Linked DNA regions of Homo sapiens: regions 1 and 2 are each linked to region 3. Evidence: promoter capture Hi-C in human tissues and cell types (Jung and others, 2019). All regions are on one chromosome and are shown on one strand. Each heading gives the region's core, a stretch centred on a gene start or on the middle of the fragment in contact. The rest is flanking DNA. Distances are from core to core; before and after follow the strand shown.

Region 1 (2,700 bases), core at 55-2,554, 440 kb before region 3:
ATGATACACAATCATTTTCAGTGGCTAAAGAGTATCCTAGTGATTGAATATATGAAACTGCCCATTTTGGCAGGTCATGGTGCCTCACGCCTGTAATCCCAGCACTTTGGGAGGCCAAGGCGGGCAGATCACTTGAGGCCAGGAGTTCAAGACCAGGCTGGCCAACATGGCGGAAACCCTGTCTCTACTAAAAATGCAAAAATTATCCAGTTGTGGTGGTGCATGCTTGTAATCCCAGCTACTTGGGAGGCTGAGGCAGGAGAATCACTTGAACCTGGAAGGCGGAGGTTGCAGTGAGCCGAGATCATGCCACTGCACTGCACTTCAGCCTGGGCAACAGAGTGAGACTCTCTCTCCAAAAAAAAGAAAAGAAAGAAAGAACTGCCCATTTTGTAGGCCATAGCTATAGAATACAGGCAGTTCCATATGGCTCAAGCTAAGAGGTACATTGTGATAATTTGCCAGTCAGTCTCTGGGATAGATATTTAACTGTAACTTTTGTTCAATTTTCCCAATTATAAACAATTTTTGGTAACCCTAATATGTCCTTACCATGTGCCAACCACTCTTCTAAGTCTATTTTGCTGACATATATTAACTTTTGCAATTCTTACTCCCCCCCACCAAAAAAATGAAAACAAAAACCAACTCTATAAGGAAGGTGCTAGTATTACCTCCACCTAATAGCCGAACAAACTGTGGTATGAATGAAGCGAGAAGCTTGTCCAAGGTCACATGGTAAACAGCAGCGCCAGCTCTGAACGCAGCCATCTGGCTCCACAGCCTCAGCTCTCTTAAATGCTATGGTAAATGGAATTATTTTTCCAATTTCCTTTTCAAATGTTCCTTGCTGGTGTAAAAAAAAATGCACACACACAATTAATTTTTGTGTGTTGATCTTGTTCCTTGCGACTTTACTGAATTGGTTAATTAGCTCTATCTAATAGTTTTCTTGTGAATTCTTCGGGATTCTCCATATATGGGATTGTGCCATCTGTGATTAAAGATAGTTTTACTTCATTCTTTGCCATCTGGATGCCTTTTATTGCTTTTCTTGTCTAATTGCTCTGGCTAGAACTTCCAGTACAATGTTGAACAGCAGCGGTGAAAGCGGGCATCCTCGTCCTGTTCCTGATCTCAGGAAGAATGCACTCAGGCTATGCTCCTAACAACTGTGCTCACTGTCTGTCCACCCCACATTCATGTTGCCAGAAATCCCTGCACAAGCTTCTTCACACACCTAAGGCATTAAGTCTATACAGGACTTCTGGGTCAAAGGGTGTGCACATTTTCTATCTGAGTTTATTTTCCTAAATCATAAATGCTTGAACCATTTCATGCTTCCATCACCAAAGCAAGAGTGTGTACACTGCCTCTTAAGAGGGGCTTGACAAACAAGCGGTGTGAACTTGGTTGAGACAGTTGAGGGTCTGGTCGCCAGGCTGAGAGCACATGGCCTGTAGGATGGAGGCTGTGAGTTTGAAGAAGAGGAGAGACATAGTAGCAGTGTGCAGCCATTTGAAGAGGGACACAAGGCAAAACTAAGCAAAGGTGAAAGTTACAGGGGGAAAGATTTTGGCTCATTTTCTCAGGAAGAAAAGTGACAGGGCAGTCCCAGAGCAGAACAAGCTTTCCTTGTGGTTACTGCTGGTGATGGTGAGGAAGATGATGAAGATAATTTTCATTTACCACATCAACTTCCCTTTCTCTCCTGTCCCCTTTCCATCTGCACTTAACATCATTTCTCTACTAAAAATACAAAATTAGCCAGGCATGGTGGCACATGCCTGTATTCCCAGCTACTCAGAAAGCTGAGGCAGGAGAATAGCTTGAACCCCAGAGGCGGAGGTTGCGGTGAGCCGAGATCACCCCATTACACTCCAGCCTGTGCAACAAGAGTGAAACTCTGTCTCCAAAATACCCCCTCTTCAATCCCACATTCTCTTACCACCACTCCATGCCTCTCTTCTTCATAGCCAAGTCCCCTGAAAGAGTGAGTCATCATATCCATTTCTGCATCTCCATTCACTCCTCCGCCCACTCCAGTCTGGCTCCCACCCCCATCCCTTCTCTAAAGCCTCTCTTGCCAAGTAAACAACAACGTCATTGTCACTAAATCCAATAGACACACCACATAGCTGATCTTCCTGGAACTCTCAGCACCAGTTGACACTGTGACCATGCCCCACCTCCCTCACCTCCTTCCCTTAGCTTGCAGGAATCCACCTTTGCCTGACTTTCATTGGATCTCTGTGGCTACTCCTTCTCAGAATCCTTTGGGGACTTCAGCACTCCCACCCCTTAAAGGTTAGCCCTTCTCCGGGGTCGGTTCTAGGCCCTCTTGCTTTCTCATCTACTTCTTCTCTTGCTGGTGAATTGCAGCTTCTTCCATGGTTCTAGTTCCCATCTATATGCTGGTGATATAGAAACCTACATCTCAGGCCAGGCGCAGTGGTTCATGCCTGAAATCCCAGCACTTTGGGAGGCTGAGGTGGGCGGATCACCTGAGGCCAGGAGTTCAAGACCAGCCTGCCCAACATGGTGAAACCCAATCTCTACTAAAAATACAAAATTAGCCAGGTGTGGTGGCGGGCACCTGTAATCCCAGCTACTCAGGAGGCTGAGACAGGAGAATCACTTGAGCCCGGGAGGCGGAGGATGCAGTGAGCTAAGATCGCACAACTGCCCTCATATCCCTTA
Region 2 (2,700 bases), core at 67-2,566, 460 kb before region 3:
ACTCACTCCAGAGGAAGGATTGATTTGCAACCAGAAAGGGAGCTGAAAACCACGGAGCTCCATGGCTCTTCATTCAAAAGGGAAAATAATGATTCCACGTTGCTTTTTAGAGTTCAAATCAACATCTTTCTGGATAAATCTATTTTTTAACAATCTTTTTATTATTTGTAAAAGATATAAAAACAACTCCCATCAGTAGCAATACAAGGTTATACATTTTAACCAGATTTTCTCAGGCCTTTTTTGGATACCTTTAGTAGTTAACTCTCTTTTGTCAAACCCTCTTGTATATAACCATCGCACAACATACAGAACCCTGGGGAATACAGCCAAGGGCACTGCTCACTGTGGCCCGTGTATTCATTCCCACAGGCTGCACTGAAATAACCTGGTAAACAACACCCTCCTCCATTTTGCGTCTATTTCTTCTATTGTGCTTCTTTGGGGATAGGAAGAGAAACATAACTACTGTTCCAGGTAACGTCTGTATCATACAGTTAGTGTTGCCAGTGAAACGTTCCCAGATACAAAGAATTGTGCTTTTAATTCCATTTCACAATCTGTTTTGTTTTTTTTTTTTGTCATTGTCTGACCAAAATTCCTTCTGCACATGAGGCCAGTATAGGCAACGTCACATTTGTTTGTTTCAAATATGCAGTGTGGTATTTTGTTTACTTTGCATTTACCGTGAGCAAAGATACTTCTTGGAATGGCTGCAGTGAGGCCGTGTCATTGGCTCACAAAAGTGACTCATAGGTAATTTCTGTGTTTGCATTCCACTGCTCTGCTCCCTAAGGTCCTTGACTTTCTCCCCAGGAATTCACTTAAAAAGGGACTGAGCATTGTGTCAACCTGTTGCAGTGTTTTTCATATATGTGTTCACTCTAAAAATGCAAATAAAGACTGCTTCCTTAGAGGGTGCTCATACAAAATTCCAGTCTTTGAGTCTTTTTCCTTTTCAGTTTTTTCTAGTCACTGGATGTACCCACACTTCCTGTTACGTATGTCAGTAGAACATTAGAATGCCTCACTTCGCTCAGTTCATCACTGCAAAGGTGGCATGCTCCTCCCAGCCTTCCTGCCCAGGTTAACAAGCCCCATGCTGCTTGTTTCAAATGGCAACTAAAAGCAAGCCAGTGTTGGGCTGTTCTGACACCTCTGTGGTCCTCCTGGAGGGGAACTGGCTCTTGTGGGGTAAGGGAAGCCCAGCCAACATCAAAGCTCTGCATCAATGCTATCCCTTGAAGCCAACTGCTTTGTGAGGCTGTTCCTAGAAGTCCAGATGATAAGGCTTCCAAACTCTTCCTATATCTAAATAAGCGGGTATTAAAAACAACAAAGGCAGTGGCCAGTAGAAATGTATGGGTTCCAGAAATGAGGCTGTATTTCTGGGAAGATGTAAAGGAGCTGCTTTGCTTTTAGGGGAAAGTAGATATCAATACTTTGAAGCCACAAGGACACTATGAAGAAAACCATTACTCTTTCAGGTCAAGAGGTGCAATGACTATGGATTATTTAAAAACTGAAAAGCTAAGCTTGAGTGGCCCAATATCAGCAGGAAGTGGTTTTTTTTTTTTGTTTGTTTGTTTTCCTGAGACGGAGTTTTGCTCTTGTTGCCCAGGCTGGAGTGCAATGGCGCGATCTTGGCTCACTGCAACCTCTGCCTCCCGGGTTCAAACGATTCTCCTGCCTCAGCCTCCCGAGTAGCTGGGATTACAGGCGTGTGCCACCATGCCTGGCTTATTTTTGTATTTTTAGTAGAGACGGGGTTTCACCATGTTGGCCAGGCTGGTCTCGAACTCCTGACCTCAGGTGATCCACCCGCCTCGGCCTCCCAAAGTGCTGAGACTACAGGCATGAGCCACCGCACTCGGCCAGAAACTTTAATTGAGCAACTTCTGCACGTTAGACACTGCTAGGAACTAAGTTCCTAAGGCACTCTGCTCTATAAACAAGCTTGTCACACTACATAAACGTGGCATGTCAAGGGATTGAAAGTCTGCTCTAAATAATGACAGGAAAGGGAAACTGCCATAACTGCCAGCTTGGTCGCAGTCTCCTGCTGACCACAAATGACATCAAGGAAGATGAACTGGATGTGGAGATTTCAAGTGATTCAGTGGTACAGTGAGTGATGAAGTTCAAAGTACCACCTAGGCCTCTGTTTAGAAATATGTGTAGGTTTAAGCCTGAGGTCCAGGTGGAAAAAAATACAACATGCTGATATGACTCCACAGTCACTAAATCATAGGCAGCACTAGGAGACTTTTATCTCAACTTTAGGCCAGGCGCAGTGGCTCACGCCTGTAATCCCAGCACTTTGGGAGGCCAAGGCAGGTGGATCACCTGAGGTCAGGAGTTTGAGACCAGCCTGGCCAACATGGTGAAACCCCATCTCTACTAAAAATACAAAAAAATTAGCCAGGCATGGTGGCTCATGCCTGTAATCCTGGCTACTCTGGAGGCTGAGGCAGGAGAATCGCTTGAACCCGGGAGGTGGAGGTTGCAGTGAGCCAACAATGCACCATTGCACTCTAGCCTGGGCAACAGGAACCAAACTCCGTCTCAAAAAAAGAAATTTCACTTCACAGAGCTTCTTTAAGTGATTAGATCAAATTCAGACACACACCTGCATTTCAAACACTTGGGAAATAACTGGTGGAGTAAAACAATATATAGGATTTTACTTTAGTTTTAATT
Region 3 (2,700 bases), core at 55-2,554:
AAGCTTACACAGGGTGGAAGGGGACCCGAGTGGGTTGCCCCAAACAATTGACTTTTTAAGAGTCAAAGGCACCTTTGAAAATATGATTACAGGCCGGGCGCGGTGGCTCACGCCTGTAACCCCAGCACTTTGGGAGGCCGAGGCGGGTGGATCATCTGAGGTCGGGAGGTAGAGACCAGCCTGACCAACATGGTGAAACCCCGTCTCTACTAAAAATACAAAAATTTAGACGGGCTTGGTGGCGGGCGCCTGTAATCCCAGCTACTCGGGAGGCTGAGGCAGGAGCTGAGGCTTGAACCCGGGCGGCATTGCAGTGAGCCGAGATCGCGGCATTGCACTCCAGCCTGGGCGACAGAGCGAGACTCCATCTCAAAAAGAAAGAAAGAAAATATGATTACAGCTCTGAGTCCTCTCTAGTAGAGGCCCCCAGTTTTTATGTAGGAAGGTCTGAGGGGCACCAAACTACTGGGGGTGAAGGGGTGATTGCTTGAAGGTGGCTGGGGGAGACTAGGTAAGTCTCCAACACCGGCACTCTCCCCAGAAAAATGTGTATATTCACAAAAATTTCCCAACAGTTTCAATGAGTTCACACATCATTAAGGAATCCTACCCTAAAGAGGCGTAGCAACCCGTGGAAAGAAACAGTTCCAGCAATTGCAAGCGCCAAATCCCGCCCTCTGAGAGCACACCTGCTCATCTCAATGGCAGCTAGATGTTATTTCAGGAGCGAGGAGGGTGGTTTATTCCCTTTCCCTAGATGGCAAAGTTAAACGGGTACGAAATTCTGCTCGCTACTTCCTGTTCTGCATTCGAGAGGCCAGCTTCCACCACTACACCCCAACCAGCGGGAGGTGCTTTTTGCGGGAAACGAGTAGGAACCGTCTGGAAACGGAGGACCGTGCCCCTATCCCCGGAACATTCGAGGTATAGGACCAAAGGCCTTCCCTGGCTCGGGCGTGCGTGTCTCGTGACAGGTCGGGCTGCTAGAGGGGCCTTTTTACCCCTTGGATGGCCTCTGGCCCCTTGGGGCCGGGATACGAGACCTAGGCCAGCCGCACCCAGAGGTGGCCGCTCCCTTCCTTCCCTAGACCTCTTCTGGGCCTTTCCCAGGCCAGCGCCTGGGCCCTGACGCCGAGGCCTCCGGGATTTCCCAATTCCTCGCCCTCGGCCTCCCCACGGCTCCCAACAACGCAGCACCCCACCCGAGAGCCAGGCCTTGGTCGCCGCAACTGCAGCCCTCACCATCCTGTCACCGGGCTCCGCTCAGTCACCACCACCGTCGCCGCCCTCTTCCTCAGGCTCCTCGGCGACCCGCCCACTTAACCGCAACCAATGAGAGCAGAGGGAGACAGAAATTGCCGTACGGAGGCCCGCACGGACCCTTCTCCGCCGTAAAGCCGTTTGGGAACTTGTGGAGGCGGGGTGGTAGAGTGCAGAGACGAGATCGCGAAGCTTTGAAAAGCGCGGGCAACATCCGGGCACCTGGGCCGTCGAGCTGAGGCGCGCCTTCCGAGCCTGCTTTTTAGGGCGGATGGCAGCCATGCTGAAGTGCGTGATGAGCGGCAGTCAGGTGAAAGGTGGAGCGGCCTTTGTTGTCTTCCCATTTAGCAGAGAGAAAAGCAGACGTTAATAGGTCGTCCCTACCATTGTCTAATTTTTCCTCTTTGCCTTTTTGCGCAATGACTGAGGACGCACGCCCTGGCCACAGCCCCACCCACTCAAGTCCCTGTTAACTTCTGAGGGGAGGATGAGGACCCATCTCGTGTGACTTAGAGGCAGATGTAATATGGGTGGTATCCGGGAAATAGAGTTGTACCATCGGGCCACAAACTCGGGATGCTGAGGACTGCATGGGGAAGAGTTGAGAGAAAAAAATAATGCTTGGACAGTAAAAGTATTTTTGTGCCAAGAGAACAGCATTAACCTGGTTTTTTTTTTCCCCAGATTCTACCATTTTTAAAAATGTATGAACTTGGAAAAGTCACTAAATCTCTTTGGGGCTCAGTTTCTAAAACGGAAACAGGGGTAATGACAGCACCTTCGTCACAGAGTTTGTTTGGAGGCAATGAAATGGAAATGCGTGTAAAGAGCCCAGTAATAGATGGAATGTACAAGAACTATTAGTGTTGTAAACGGCGCTTTCAAAATGGAAGTTAGGCCGGGTGCAGTGGCTCACGCCTGTAATCCTAGCACTTTGGGAGGCCAAGGCGGGTGGATCACCTTAGGTCGGGAGTTCGAGACCACCCTGACCAACATGATGAAACCCCGTCTCTACTAAACATACAAAAATTAGCCGGGCTTAGTGGTGGGCGCCTGTAATCCCAAGCTACTTGGAAGGCTGAGGCGAGAGGATCGATTGAGCCCGGGAGGTTGAGGCTGCAGTGAGTTGAGCTCGTGCCACTGCACTCCAGCCTGAGTGTCAGAGTGAGACTCTGTCTCAAAAAAAATAAAAAATAAAAAGAACATTAACAATGTCGTACGGGATCAGACTAGTGTGTTTTCCAGCCCTAAATGTGTTCTGTGGTGGGGAAATCTGGCTGCCCTCAAACATCAGAGATGTATGTTGGATACCCCTAATTTCTCTCTCATGACTTGTTGTGACTTGGCTATCAAGCTATTAAAACCACTTCAGATTATCTTCTCCATGCACTGTTTTCACAGTTTTTGGGGGGTCAAATACATTTATCTAAATCAAGTTGT

The links. The method cuts DNA at HindIII sites, captures the fragments that hold promoters and counts their contacts. A contact is called where the count stands out against the background at its distance.
Region 1: a fragment that was not itself captured here is called in contact with the fragment with the promoter of VPS29 in region 3 in 2 of the 25 tissues and cell types used here (dorsolateral prefrontal cortex and hippocampus).
Region 2: a fragment that was not itself captured here is called in contact with the fragment with the promoter of VPS29 in region 3 in 1 of the 25 tissues and cell types used here (dorsolateral prefrontal cortex).

The regions. Positions count from the first base shown.
Region 1 is chr12:110,058,314-110,061,013 of GRCh38, forward strand. It overlaps a transcript of C12orf76 not described here. Among named protein-coding and RNA genes, the nearest start is that of C12orf76, 11 kb to the left of the region's middle. The HindIII fragment of the contact is 4,989 bases long and covers 1-2,700 here.
Region 2 is chr12:110,038,501-110,041,200 of GRCh38, forward strand. ANKRD13A (ankyrin repeat domain 13A) reads left to right here. Exons shown (of 15, transcript NM_033121.2): 15 at 1-1,263. It overlaps C12orf76 (chromosome 12 open reading frame 76), which reads right to left. Exons shown (of 2, transcript NM_001389625.1): 2 at 2,677-2,700. Among named protein-coding and RNA genes, the nearest start is that of C12orf76, 8.7 kb to the right of the region's middle. The HindIII fragment of the contact is 4,630 bases long and covers 1-2,700 here.
Region 3 is chr12:110,500,807-110,503,506 of GRCh38, forward strand. It overlaps VPS29 (VPS29 retromer complex component), which reads right to left and starts at 1,305. Exons shown (of 4, transcript NM_016226.5): 1 at 1,243-1,305. The coding sequence starts at 1,245. RAD9B (RAD9 checkpoint clamp component B) reads left to right here and starts at 1,525. Exons shown (of 11, transcript NM_001286535.2): 1 at 1,525-1,577. The coding sequence starts at 1,532. RefSeq lists an enhancer at 1,134-1,273. The HindIII fragment of the contact is 3,487 bases long and covers 1-2,350 here.